2 separate regions of the Homo sapiens genome follow, and region 2 is linked to region 1. The links are contacts of gene promoters, found by promoter capture Hi-C in human tissues and cell types (Jung and others, 2019). All regions are on one chromosome and are shown on one strand. Each heading gives the region's core, a stretch centred on a gene start or on the middle of the fragment in contact. The rest is flanking DNA. Distances are from core to core; before and after follow the strand shown.

Region 1 (5,471 bases), core at 995-3,494:
ACACTAATAAACACTGCCTCATTAAAAAAAAATGGTGCTGGATCTAAATATGATAGTAGCAGGGGCCTAGGAAGAAGATGAACTAAAAAGTGAAGAAAAAGCAACTGATATCTAGAATGAACTGAAGGATGGGGGGCAACCAGGCAGGGTGGAGCTTAGAGTCCTAGGGAATGTCCCCTTACAAAATCAAAGTTGACAGTTAACTGACATAATGGCACTGACTGATGGAGGGGTTATATGCCCCTGGAAGCTCATTAAATTTATTTCTTGGCCTGTTTATGTGCCTTCACAAACCATACCCCACACCTCTCCCAGCCCTTTGCTTGCTGGTACTTTCTGCTGCTGGGGTTAAAATGCTGGATAAGAGGAAAAGGGATAAAAGAAACTAGAAACTTAGGGTGATCAAGAAGAAAAGGTAGGAAGAGGGCAGATTATGGGAACAAAGGTGGAAACTCAGAGCTCATGGGAAACAGATGGAAAAAAGGGGTGAAGCAAAATGGGGAAATAAAAAATATACAATGATACAGTGGGGGAAGGGAGTAAAATTAAGTCAGCAGGGAAGAGGTTTTGTTGTGCGAAGCTCCTGGAAAGGCAGATGACACGCATGAGACCAGAAGGTGAGGTTCTGATGAGGGAGACAGGCACATGGCAAAGGGGACAGTCAACAATGCTAGGAAGTTCCAAAGCTTCTCTGGTGATGGTGGAAGAGGAGGCTGTCCTGGCCATGCTGAAGGCACTAGAGGCTTTGGCGAAGACACATTTGCTCCATCATCCCACTCCTCCAGGCCCTGACTGTGACCACCACAATCATGACTGATAAGCAAATTCCAAAGTAGCCTGAAAAGGCCAGAGATATCCAGACAGACTCTGAAGGAGAGGGCATGGAATCCTAGACCGACAGAACAGGCAGCCAAGGCGTGACACATAGTGATAGAGACACACAAGGAGAGGATCACTCAGATGGGAAGGGTCACAAGTGGAGACAGTGACATACAGATCCAGAGATGGATGGGATGGAAGAGACAAGATGAAGAACAGCAAAACCAAAAGTCAGGGACACATGGACAGAGATCAGCGGGGCTACAGGCACAGCGAGGAAGCGTGGTCCTGTGCTTGAAAATGATAGGGCTGCTCAGAGGGGCAGACGAGCGGATGGGGGTGGTAGGATGGGCGTGCAGGACAGACACGCTTCACCTTGAATGGGCTTATGGCCTCCCCTCACCTACTCAACACTTTCAAAAAAAGGAATGGAAAGCCCAACTTCAGCCAAAAACGAACGAAGACTGAGAGTATCCACGTCCCCTCCCACTCCACGCCCCAGCGCGCTAGCCCATCCATCAGCCCGCCGGCCGCGGTTCTCCCATCCCACAGCCGGCGGGGGGCCGCCGAGACCCAGGACCCTCCAGGCTGACAGCTCTGAGCCCTCACACTCACCGGGCCTCCCCTTCCCCCCGGGATCCCCGCTCCCTGCCCAACTCGGCGCGGTCCGTCTAGGCTTTCCATACCCTTCGTCTGTCCGGCGGGCCTCTGCCTTTCCCGTTCCCGTTTCTCCCTCCACCCCCGCATCTCTCTTCCCCCATCCTCGCGCACGCCCTCTTCCTCCCACACCCCTGTCTGCTATCTCCCAGGGCTCTCGGTCTGTCTGTCCGTCCGTCCTTGTCCCCTCCCCCAGCCCCTTCCCGTCCCTCTCCGTCCCCTCCAGCGGCAGTCTCCAAGCGCCTCCTCTCCCGTCTCGAGCTTCCAAAGAGCAAGGAAGGGAAGAAGAGAGAGAGGGAGAGGAGAAAAAAACCAACCCAGCAGCATCGGAAATCGATGCACTTACACCTCAGCTGGAAGCAGGGACGGGAGTCGAACCGCGGCCACCGAGCAGCGCGAGGCGGGGAGGGGAGGGGGCGGCTCTTGGAAGGGACTTCTCCGATGTGTTGATTCCTCTTTTTTCCCCTCCTCCTCCCTCCCTCCAGCGCTCGCTCCGGGGCGTCAGGGACGGAGACGGAAAAAAATAAATAAATAAATTCACGGCGGTGAGGGAAGTGAAGGAAAATAATCAATGCTATTTGGCTGCGGCTGAAGTGTTTCCCCGGCTTCGTGAGGGGGTTTCCATTGATTCACCCTGGGCACTCGCTCGCTCCCTGCCTCCTCCTCCTCCTCCTCCTTCTCCTCCTCGCCCTCCTCCTCCTCCTCCTCCTCGCCCTCACTCCTCCGCCTCATTCACTGGCTGGAGTCTAGGCGTCCCACACAATGGAATAATCAATACCCAGGCGCCCGGGGCTGCCCCACTGAGCAGGTGCAGCGACCCGCCCGCCGCGGCGCATGCCGGGAGTTGTAGTCTGTTCGCGCCCGCCCGCCTGCCTCGCGGGACCCAGGGCCGGGGGCAGGCCGGCCAGCCCACCAGGTCGCCTCCAGGTTCAAGCCGGTGCCTGCAAAGAGGGCAGGCCCCTTTAAACTCTTTTCCGTCTCCTCTCCTCTTCATCCTGTGGCCTGCAGAAACCATACATGTGTTTTGTTGTTTTGTTTTAAATCAGCTTCAGAACAAGCCCTGAGCCGCCCAAGGCCTCCTTTTTTCATTCTCTTCTTCCTGCCTTATTATTCCGCCTCCCCCATCTCCCCCCGCGAAATTGGGTACTAGAACCTTCTCTACCGCAGCAATTACTCTTTAGTCTCTGAGAGCTTCTGCCTCCTCCACACGGTTACATAGTCCCCTGAGCTGGGTTGGGGGAGGTTCGGGCTCCTCCTCATCTTCAGTTTATCGCTTATTAAGTGCTCCTGAATTTTTTTTTTTTTTTTTTTTCTGGAGACGGAGTCTCACTCAGTCGCCCAGGTTGGAGTGCAGTGGTGCGATCTCGGCTCACTGCAACCTCCACCACCGGGTTCAAGCGATTCTCCTACCTCAGCCTCCTAAGTAGCTGGGATTACAGGCATGCATCAACACACCCAGCTAATTTTTGTATTTTTAGTAGAGACGGGGTTTCACCACGTTGGTCAAGCTGGTCTCGAACTCCTGACCTTGTGATCCGCCTGCCTCGGCCTCCCAAAGTGCTGGGATTACAGGTGTGAACCACCACCGCGCCCAGCCCGTTTTTTTGTTTGTTTGTTTTTTTCTTGAGACAGAGTCACTCTGTCGCCCAGGCTGCAGTGCAGTGGCATGATCCCGGCTCACTGCAACCTTCACCTCCCAGGTTCAAGTGATTCTCCTGCCTCAGCCTCCCAAGTAGCTGGGATTGTAGGTGCCCACCACCATGCCCTGCTAATTTTGTATTTTTAGTAGAGACGGGGGTTTCACCATCTTAGCCAGGCTGGTCTCGAACTCCTGACCTCAGGTGATCCACCGGCCTCAGCCTCCCAAAGTCCTGGGATTATAGGGGTGATCCACCTCACCCGGCCGCTCCTGTATTCTAATAATAATTTTTAAGATTTCTTGAATGCACAGGGACAGTTCCAAGCACTTTTACATACATTGTTTACTCCTCTCAATACCTCAAGCATGAGGTAGATGCTATTATAGTCTCATTTATTGAGGAAACTAAGGCACAAACAAGTGAATTAACAGGCCCAAGGTCCAATGGCCAATAAGTAAGTGACAGTGCCAGGACTCAAAAACCTCCATGGTCTGGCTCCAGGGCCCATACTAACTGCTATAGCCTACTTCTCTTAAACAACACAACAAAACCCTGAAGTTCACATGACAAAAAGGAGAGATAAATGAACATTTTGAGTTTATACTATGTGACAGTTTATGACTGAATCCTCACAGGTAACTGTGAGGCAGGCCACATTTTCTCAATGAAAAAGCAGAGGCTGGCCGGGCATGGTGGCTCACTCCTGTAATCCCAGCACTTTGGGAGGCTGAGGTGGGTAGATCACCTGAGGTCAGGAGTTCGAGACCAGCCTGACCAACATGGTGAAACCCTGTCTCTACTAAAAATACAAAATTAGCTGGGCGTGGTGGTGGGCACCTGTAATCCCAGCTACTCGGGAGGCTGAGGCAGAAGAATCGCTTGAACCCGGGGGGCAGAGGTTGCGGTGAGCCAAGATCACACCATTGCACTCCAGCCTGGGCAACAAGAGTGAAACTCCGTCTCAAAACCAAAAACAGGCCGGGCGTGGTGGCTCACACCTGTAATCCCAGCACTTTGGGAGGTGGAGGCGGGTGGATCACAAGATCAGGAGATCGAGACCATCCTGACTAACAGGGTAAAACCCCATCTCTACTAAAATTACAAAAAATTAGCCGGGCATGGTGGTGGGCACCTGTAGTCCCATCTACTTGGGAGGCTGAGGCAGGAGAATGGCATGAACCCTGGAGGCGGAGCTTGCAGTGAGCCGAGATGGCGCCACTACACTCCAGCCTGGGCGACAAAGCGAGACTCCGTCTCAAACAAACAAACAAACAAAAATTAGGAGGGTGGGGTGGCACGTGCCTGTAGTCCCAACTACTCAGGAGGCTGAGGCGGGAGAATCATTTGAACCCAGGAGGCAGAGGTTGCAGTGAGCTGAGACGCCAGAGTGAGACTCTGTCTCAAAAAAAAAAAAAAAAAAAAAAAAAAAGCAGATGCTTAGGAAAGTGGAGTAGCTTGCGGAAGGCCAAACATCTAGAAAGTGAAGCTGGGAGTCGACCTCAGGTCTGGCTCCGGAAACTGGTCTTTCTGTTCAAATAAGCTGCTGCTTTTGCCCCACTGGATTGGATCTTATAACATAAGGAAAAATTAGGTCTTCATCCCAGGTTAACAAAACCGGAAAGCAAAAGATGGATGAAAAGCAGGCTTTAGGAGCTGGGGTTTCTTCTCTCCCTAACCAACAGTGCTTAACATGGAGTGGGGACAGAGGTTGACCCAAGCTACTCCAAGTTCAAGATGCCATTTGTTTATTTATTTATGCACAGGGTCTTGCTCTGTTGCCGAGGCTGGAGTGCAGGCAGTAGCAGGATCGTAGCTCACTGCCCTTGACCTCCTGGGCTCAAGCTATCCCGCTGCCTCAACCTCCTGAGCAGCTGGGACCACAGGCATGCACTACCACACCCGGCTAATTAAAATTTTTTTTTTTTTTTTTTTGTAGAAACAGGGTCTTCCTATGTTGCCCAGGCTGGTCTCAAACTCCTGGCCTCAAATGATCCTCCTGCCTCGACCTCCCAAAGTGCTAGGATTACAAGTGTGAGTCAACACACCTGGCCAAAATGCCATGTCTTTAAACCAGTGTCCTTCTCCCTATAATACCTCTCACTGGTCATGTATTTCCAGAAACATACTGGTGAGAGGGCAGGTGTTGAGAACATGGCACTTCTCACCCATCATAGGAAGGAGTCCAGGAGTTAAGAGCCACGGTTCCTCAGGGAGCTTCCTCACATGGAAGGTCAGACATATAGTTAGAGTCTCCAGATAACCATAGTCCTCAGAGGGAGTAAGAAGGAATCATCTCTATTAATATTTTGTCTCCCAAAGCATTCAAAGGGCCAACCCCCATGTTTTCCTGAATTT
Region 2 (5,403 bases), core at 1-2,500, 160 kb before region 1:
CTCCTCCTCCACCTCCAAGGAGGTTGCCTTTGGCCTCTCACTGAACCCCTCATGCCCCCTTGCCCTGCATGCTGGCTGCGGCCCCCGCCCATGGTCCACCTTGTCAAAGTTTCTCTGCTTCTTGTCCAGGGCTGCAGCAGCAGCATTGGAGCGCTCTACGTCCACCATCAAGTCCTCTATCTCATTCTGTAGCCGGTGCTTGGTCTTCTCCAGTGAGGAGCACTTGGCATTAACAGCCTCCACGGCCTCCTCGGCATCCTGCAGCCGCTGGGCCAGCTTCTTTCTGCCCAGGTGAGGGTGGAGGGTGTGTGTGTGACTCTACTGGGCAACACTGGAGCCTTGGGTGGACCTCCTTCCACCCCCTCCCTATATCTCCTTGAGACACCGTAAGTCCAGCCTAGCAGGAGCTGAGCCTGCTCATGCCTGGAACAGAGTCCGCCAGCACGGGCTGCCCAGGCGTCCTCCCTACCTGCAGTGGCATCTGGGTGTCAGTGCCCCCTGCCCTCACCCCCCACACAGGCTGATCGACGGTAGCTCCTCTGACCAACAAGCTTTTTGCTCGTCTTATACGTGAGCATCAGGTATAACCCGGGCCAAAAGCTCGCCCGTCACAGGAAGTGGGTCAGGGCCAGCCAGAGTTCACAGAGCAAAGAGTTCAGGCTTTCTTCCAAGCACTTCTGTTGCCCTCCGAGTTCCTCCTGTCTCTTCCACTTCCGTCTCATGACCACTTTGCCTGTCCCCACCCCAGGTCCTCTCGCCCCTTCCTCTCTGAGAGTCAGGTTAAGGGGGTATCTGGAGCTCACTTGGCCTCTTCGAGCTCCTCAGTCCGCTGAATGGCGTCCGTCTCATACTTGGTCCTCCACTGGGCCACCTCCGAGTTGGCCTTGGACAGGACGCGCTGCAGCTCGGCCTTGGCCTCTGTCTCCTCCTCGTACTGCTCCCGCAGCAGGTCGCAGTCATGCCGGGCCGACTGCAGTGCATGGGCCAGGGCGTTCTTCGCCTGGGGAGGGGGGGGGGCACCAGGAGGTGGGAGGGACTCCCTGTGCCCCATTCTCTAGATTCTCTTCTTATGTAGTACTTCAACCAAGCCCAGCCTTATTCACCATGTGGGCTGATGTGGCACCTCACTGTTTGAGGAGTTTCCCAGTCTGCTCACCCCATCCCCTTACGAATAAGAAAAGAGGCATTAAATGACGCTTAGCTGCAGGGCAGAACCTAGACTGGAGGGTCTTTCCCTTGCAGAGGACTCTTTCCAGCTCCAGGCTCCATTTCTGGCACTGAGATGAATTGCCCCAGGGCTGCCATCAAGCCTGCCCACCCTCCCCACTGGGCCTCACCTTGCCCTCCTCCTCCAGCTGCCTTTTGAGGTCCTCCATTTGCTGGGTATAAGAGAGCTTCCCCCGGGTCAGCTGCGAGATTAGCGCCTCCTTTTCCTCTAGCTGCCGGGCCAACTCTCCTGGAGGTGAAATGAGGGGCTTGTGGGCCATTTCACAAGTCATGTCCTGCCCTAGGCAGGGGGTTGGTTAGGGGCACCCACCATTCTCGGTCTGCAGCTTGGCTCGCTGGGTGGTGAAATCATTGAGGGAGCGTTGGGCCTCTTCTAGCTTCACGCGGTACTCATTGGCCTGGTCCTCCAGCGTCCGAGACACTTTCTCCAGGTTTGCCTTCAGGAAGCAAGACAGGAAGGGTGAGTGTGGGAGGGGCTGAGTCGACCAGAGGAAGGAAGAGAGGGTCAGAGATGGGGAATGCCAGAGGGCAGGAGGGGGACACAGAAGGTGTGGGAGGGCGCAGTCTGAAGAGAGACTTGAATTAAAGAAAGGAGGAACATGAAGAGATAGAGAGGGTGAGGAGAGCCAGAGAGGGGCAGGGGAGACAGGAAGAGAGACCAAAGGGTGATGAAGAGAATGAGAATGACAAGGGAGATGGCAGACAGAGAGAGAAGGCATGGGGGAGGCTCCGCTGTGCAGGGGAGAGGGCGAGGGGAGGCCGAGCAGAGCCTGCCTTGGCCTTGATGATCTGCTCCATGTTGGAGGTGACGTCATCCAGCTCCAGCTTGAACTCGCTCTTCTCCTTCTCCAGCTTCTGCTTCACCCGCTGCAGGTTGTCGATCTGCTCGCCCAGCTCGGCCACGCTGTCGGCGTGCTTCTTGCGCAGGGCCGCGGCAGTGGCCTCGTGCTGCAGCGTGGCCTCCTCCAGGTCCCGCCGCATCTTCTGGAACTCGGCCTCGCGCTTCTTGTTCATCTCGATCTGCACGGACGTGGCCCCGCCGGCCTCTTCCAGCCGCTCGCTGATCTCCTCCAGCTCCCGAGACAGGTCTGAGCGCAGCTTCTCCACCTTAGCCCTGGCGGTGCGCTCGGCCTCCAGCTCCTCCTCCAGCTCCTCGATGCGTGCCTGGGTCAGACACAAAGGGCTCAGACCCACCGCCTGGACCCCTCCACTGGAATCCCCCCGGCTCTGAAAAGCTACCAGGAACTTAGGTTCCTCTCAAGCAGTGGTTCTCAACTAGGGGCAATTTTGTGCCCCAGGGAACAGTTGGCAATGTCTGATTGTCATGTCTTGGTGGGGCTTGCTACTGGCATCTAGAGGGTAGGGGCCAGGGATGCTACTAAACATCCTATAATGCATAGGCCATCAATAGGAATTTGGCTGAAGCTCCCAAGGGCATCTCAGACCCAGTGTGAGCATCTGCAGCCCCAAATCCTGAGAACCTGTGGTTGAAGGGGGATCCTGGTATCCTGTGAGATCAAGAAGTTCAGAGTCCCCAGATTCACTAGGCTCTGTTGCGCTATTCATAAGACGGGAAAATGAGTGCTTGTATTTTACAAATATTTGTGACAACATGCCTCGAAACAATCAGATACCTTTGCAATTCTCCAAGTTAACCACAAAGTCCAATCAACCATATTCCTTGCTCTCCCAGGCTTGCTGTGTTTATGCCCAGGGCTGGGTTTCAACATGATTGCTCCCTTCCAGGCCAGGAAAGTGCTAGCAGGCTACTCTCCTCTTCACCTCATCTCCTTATCCTCTTTAAGTGCCCTTACCTCATTTTTTGGGCCTTAGCCTTGGTCTTGACTAAATTGGGAGAATATCGTATCTACCATTTTGATCTGTTGTCTGGCTAGCCAGGAGCAAAACGGGGGTTCAGTGGAAATCCCTTCACCTCGGGTTATGGACAGCTTTAATGGACTGTTCATGGATGGGTCCTACAAGCAGCAGAGAGGACCACCATGCCTCTGCTCCCAGGATGGAGAAGGTGGGACTTCTGAGCAAGATCTTGGGGATGAAGGAGGAGCCATAGCCTATTGCCGAGAGCTGATGAGACTAACAGGACTGTTATTCTGTGTCCAAGAGGCCAAACAAGTTGCCCAGACCTAGGGTAGAAGAACCTGAGGATGGCCCGATATTCTAGCTAAAACCCAGAAGGGGCATCCAAGAAGATGGGAGGGCAAATTACTAATGAAGGCGGGCCAGTCCCTGTGCAGCCCCAGAGGAGTGGAATTGTGTTCATACATTACTTGCAGCCTGGGCCATGGGCCTCAAGTGCAGAGGGGAGACTACCTCTTTCTACCAGCCACAGTCTGCCCCAAAGTGAGAGGACAAGGTCCCGCCCCAGTAGCCGAGTTCCTGTTGCCCTTGGGGTCACTATGTCCAGACCTGGCCATGTAGCTTCTGTAGCTCTATAATGGGGATGGCAGTGGACTTCCAGGTCTCTTCTGACAAACCCGATACTAAAAGCACATTAGGGTTTGAGGTTCATTAAAGCTAAGGGAGACTATGGCTGTTCACTAAATCTTGAGCTGCAGAGGAATGAGAAGGCCATTGAGAAGACAAAACAATACCTTCTTAGGCTAGTGGCTGGCTGACTTCTCTAAATTGGGCTATATTAATATGATACTTGTATAGAATTTCCTAGTTGACAAAATGGTTTCAAATACATTATCCCCTCTGGTCCTGTGTGGTAGGTATTGTCAGTCTCATTTTACAGGTGAGAAGAGAATCTGAGGATCAGGGAGGGTAAGTGACTTGCTCACAGTTGTTGGAATTGGCTCTTATCATGAGTGCCCTATGGGGACTCAGCCTGGGTTAGTGGCTGGGGTTAGTACCGGGAAGAATATGAACAGAGCAGCTCACAGGAAGGTGCTCCTTGAAGCCTTTTTTTTTTTTCACCCTGCGTTCAGAGGGCTGAACTACCAGAGGAAGGGTTAGAGGAGAATAGAGCTCTATCATTTGTCTTAGAGTAGAAAGTCCCTGAGGCAGAGCAGATCTCAGAAGGAGAAGCCCTTTAGTAGGTATGAGTCCCCCTTCTCAAACAGTTTTGCTAACGTAATGTATTCTTGCTCTATGGGGGAAGGCTAGTGTTCCTGAGCGCCTGTAAGTCAGGGATGGTTGGGTCTATGAGGCTGCCTGGAGTTCCAGATATTGTGTAGAACCCTAAGCAGCTGCTGCAGCCTCAGTTACCTCAGGGCTATTGAGCTCCCACTTTCATGCACTGGGAAAAAAAGTCACCTGGTTTTCCTTCAGTTTCTTCTGTAGTTGAAGGGCCAGCACCTGCTCATCCTCAATCTTACTGTTCTGCTGATTAATGTCAAACTCCTTCCTGCAGGAGAAGGGTGGGGGTGGGGGAGTGACAGGTAGCCTTCCTTCCTCTGGGGCTCATTCTCTTCTTGGCCTTAGTATGCCAGAATCGGCACCTCCCCCTCCCCTCGCCAGCCCAGAAAGTGGCGGAAGAGGGCTGTGATTGACCTTATTCCCAGCATACCCAAGGCAACTGTGGCCAGTGGAGGCGCAGCACCCTGCACTCTATCTACCAGGCCAGACACCTCCATTAGCCCCTCCTGGCCACCACAGTCTCCTACTTCTTAAGCTTTTCTTCCAGCTGCAGTTTATCATTTTCCAGGTCCATGATGCTCTCCTGGGTCAGCTTCAGGTCGCCCTCCAGTTTCCGCTTTGCTCGCTCCAGGTCCATGCGCACCTTCTTCTCTTGCTCTAGGGATCCCTCCAGCTGTTGGAGGGAAGAAAATAAGCAAAGTGTGGAAAACATGAAATCCATAGTGTATGCTCTTTTGCCTCCTTCTAAACTTGAAGTCCAGTGGGATTGGAAGTCAAACCAACAGAGAAATCCTGCAAGCACAAAGGATTCAGAGACCTACTGTAGTGAGGAACTACAGAGAGCAAAAAAGCTTCAGGGGCCATAGAAGTTAATTCTAGGGATCAGGACTTTCTGGGCCATTGGTGTTGCCTGCAAAATCTTGCTCTGAGAGCAGGAGCATGGTTCTTACTACTCACATCATCCACCTGCTGCTCCAGCTTGACCTTAGACTTGGACAGGCTGTTGACCTTGTCTTCCTCAACCTGAAGGTCATCCAGGGCCTGCTGATGGGCCTCTTGTAGAGCTTTCTTCTC

The links. Contacts are between HindIII fragments. The study calls those that stand out against the background at their distance.
Region 2: a fragment that was not itself captured here is called in contact with the fragment with the promoter of ZFHX2 in region 1 in 1 of the 25 tissues and cell types used here (H1 embryonic stem cells).

Annotation. Positions count from the first base shown.
Region 1 is chr14:23,549,521-23,554,991 of GRCh38, forward strand. It overlaps ZFHX2 (zinc finger homeobox 2), which reads right to left and starts at 2,245. Exons shown (of 10, transcript NM_033400.3): 1 at 1,823-2,245. It also overlaps a transcript of THTPA not described here. RefSeq lists enhancers at 1,037-1,699, 2,549-2,598 and a silencer at 2,179-2,418. The HindIII fragment of the contact is 20,255 bases long and covers 1-5,471 here.
Region 2 is chr14:23,388,056-23,393,458 of GRCh38, forward strand. MYH6 (myosin heavy chain 6) reads right to left here. Exons shown (of 39, transcript NM_002471.4): 23 at 5,287-5,403; 24 at 4,857-5,002; 25 at 4,507-4,597; 26 at 2,002-2,391; 27 at 1,538-1,664; 28 at 1,338-1,456; 29 at 804-1,000; 30 at 100-283. MIR208A (microRNA 208a) reads right to left here and starts at 611; the gene lies at 541-611. RefSeq lists enhancers at 889-1,492, 1,493-2,096. The HindIII fragment of the contact is 7,544 bases long and covers 1-5,022 here.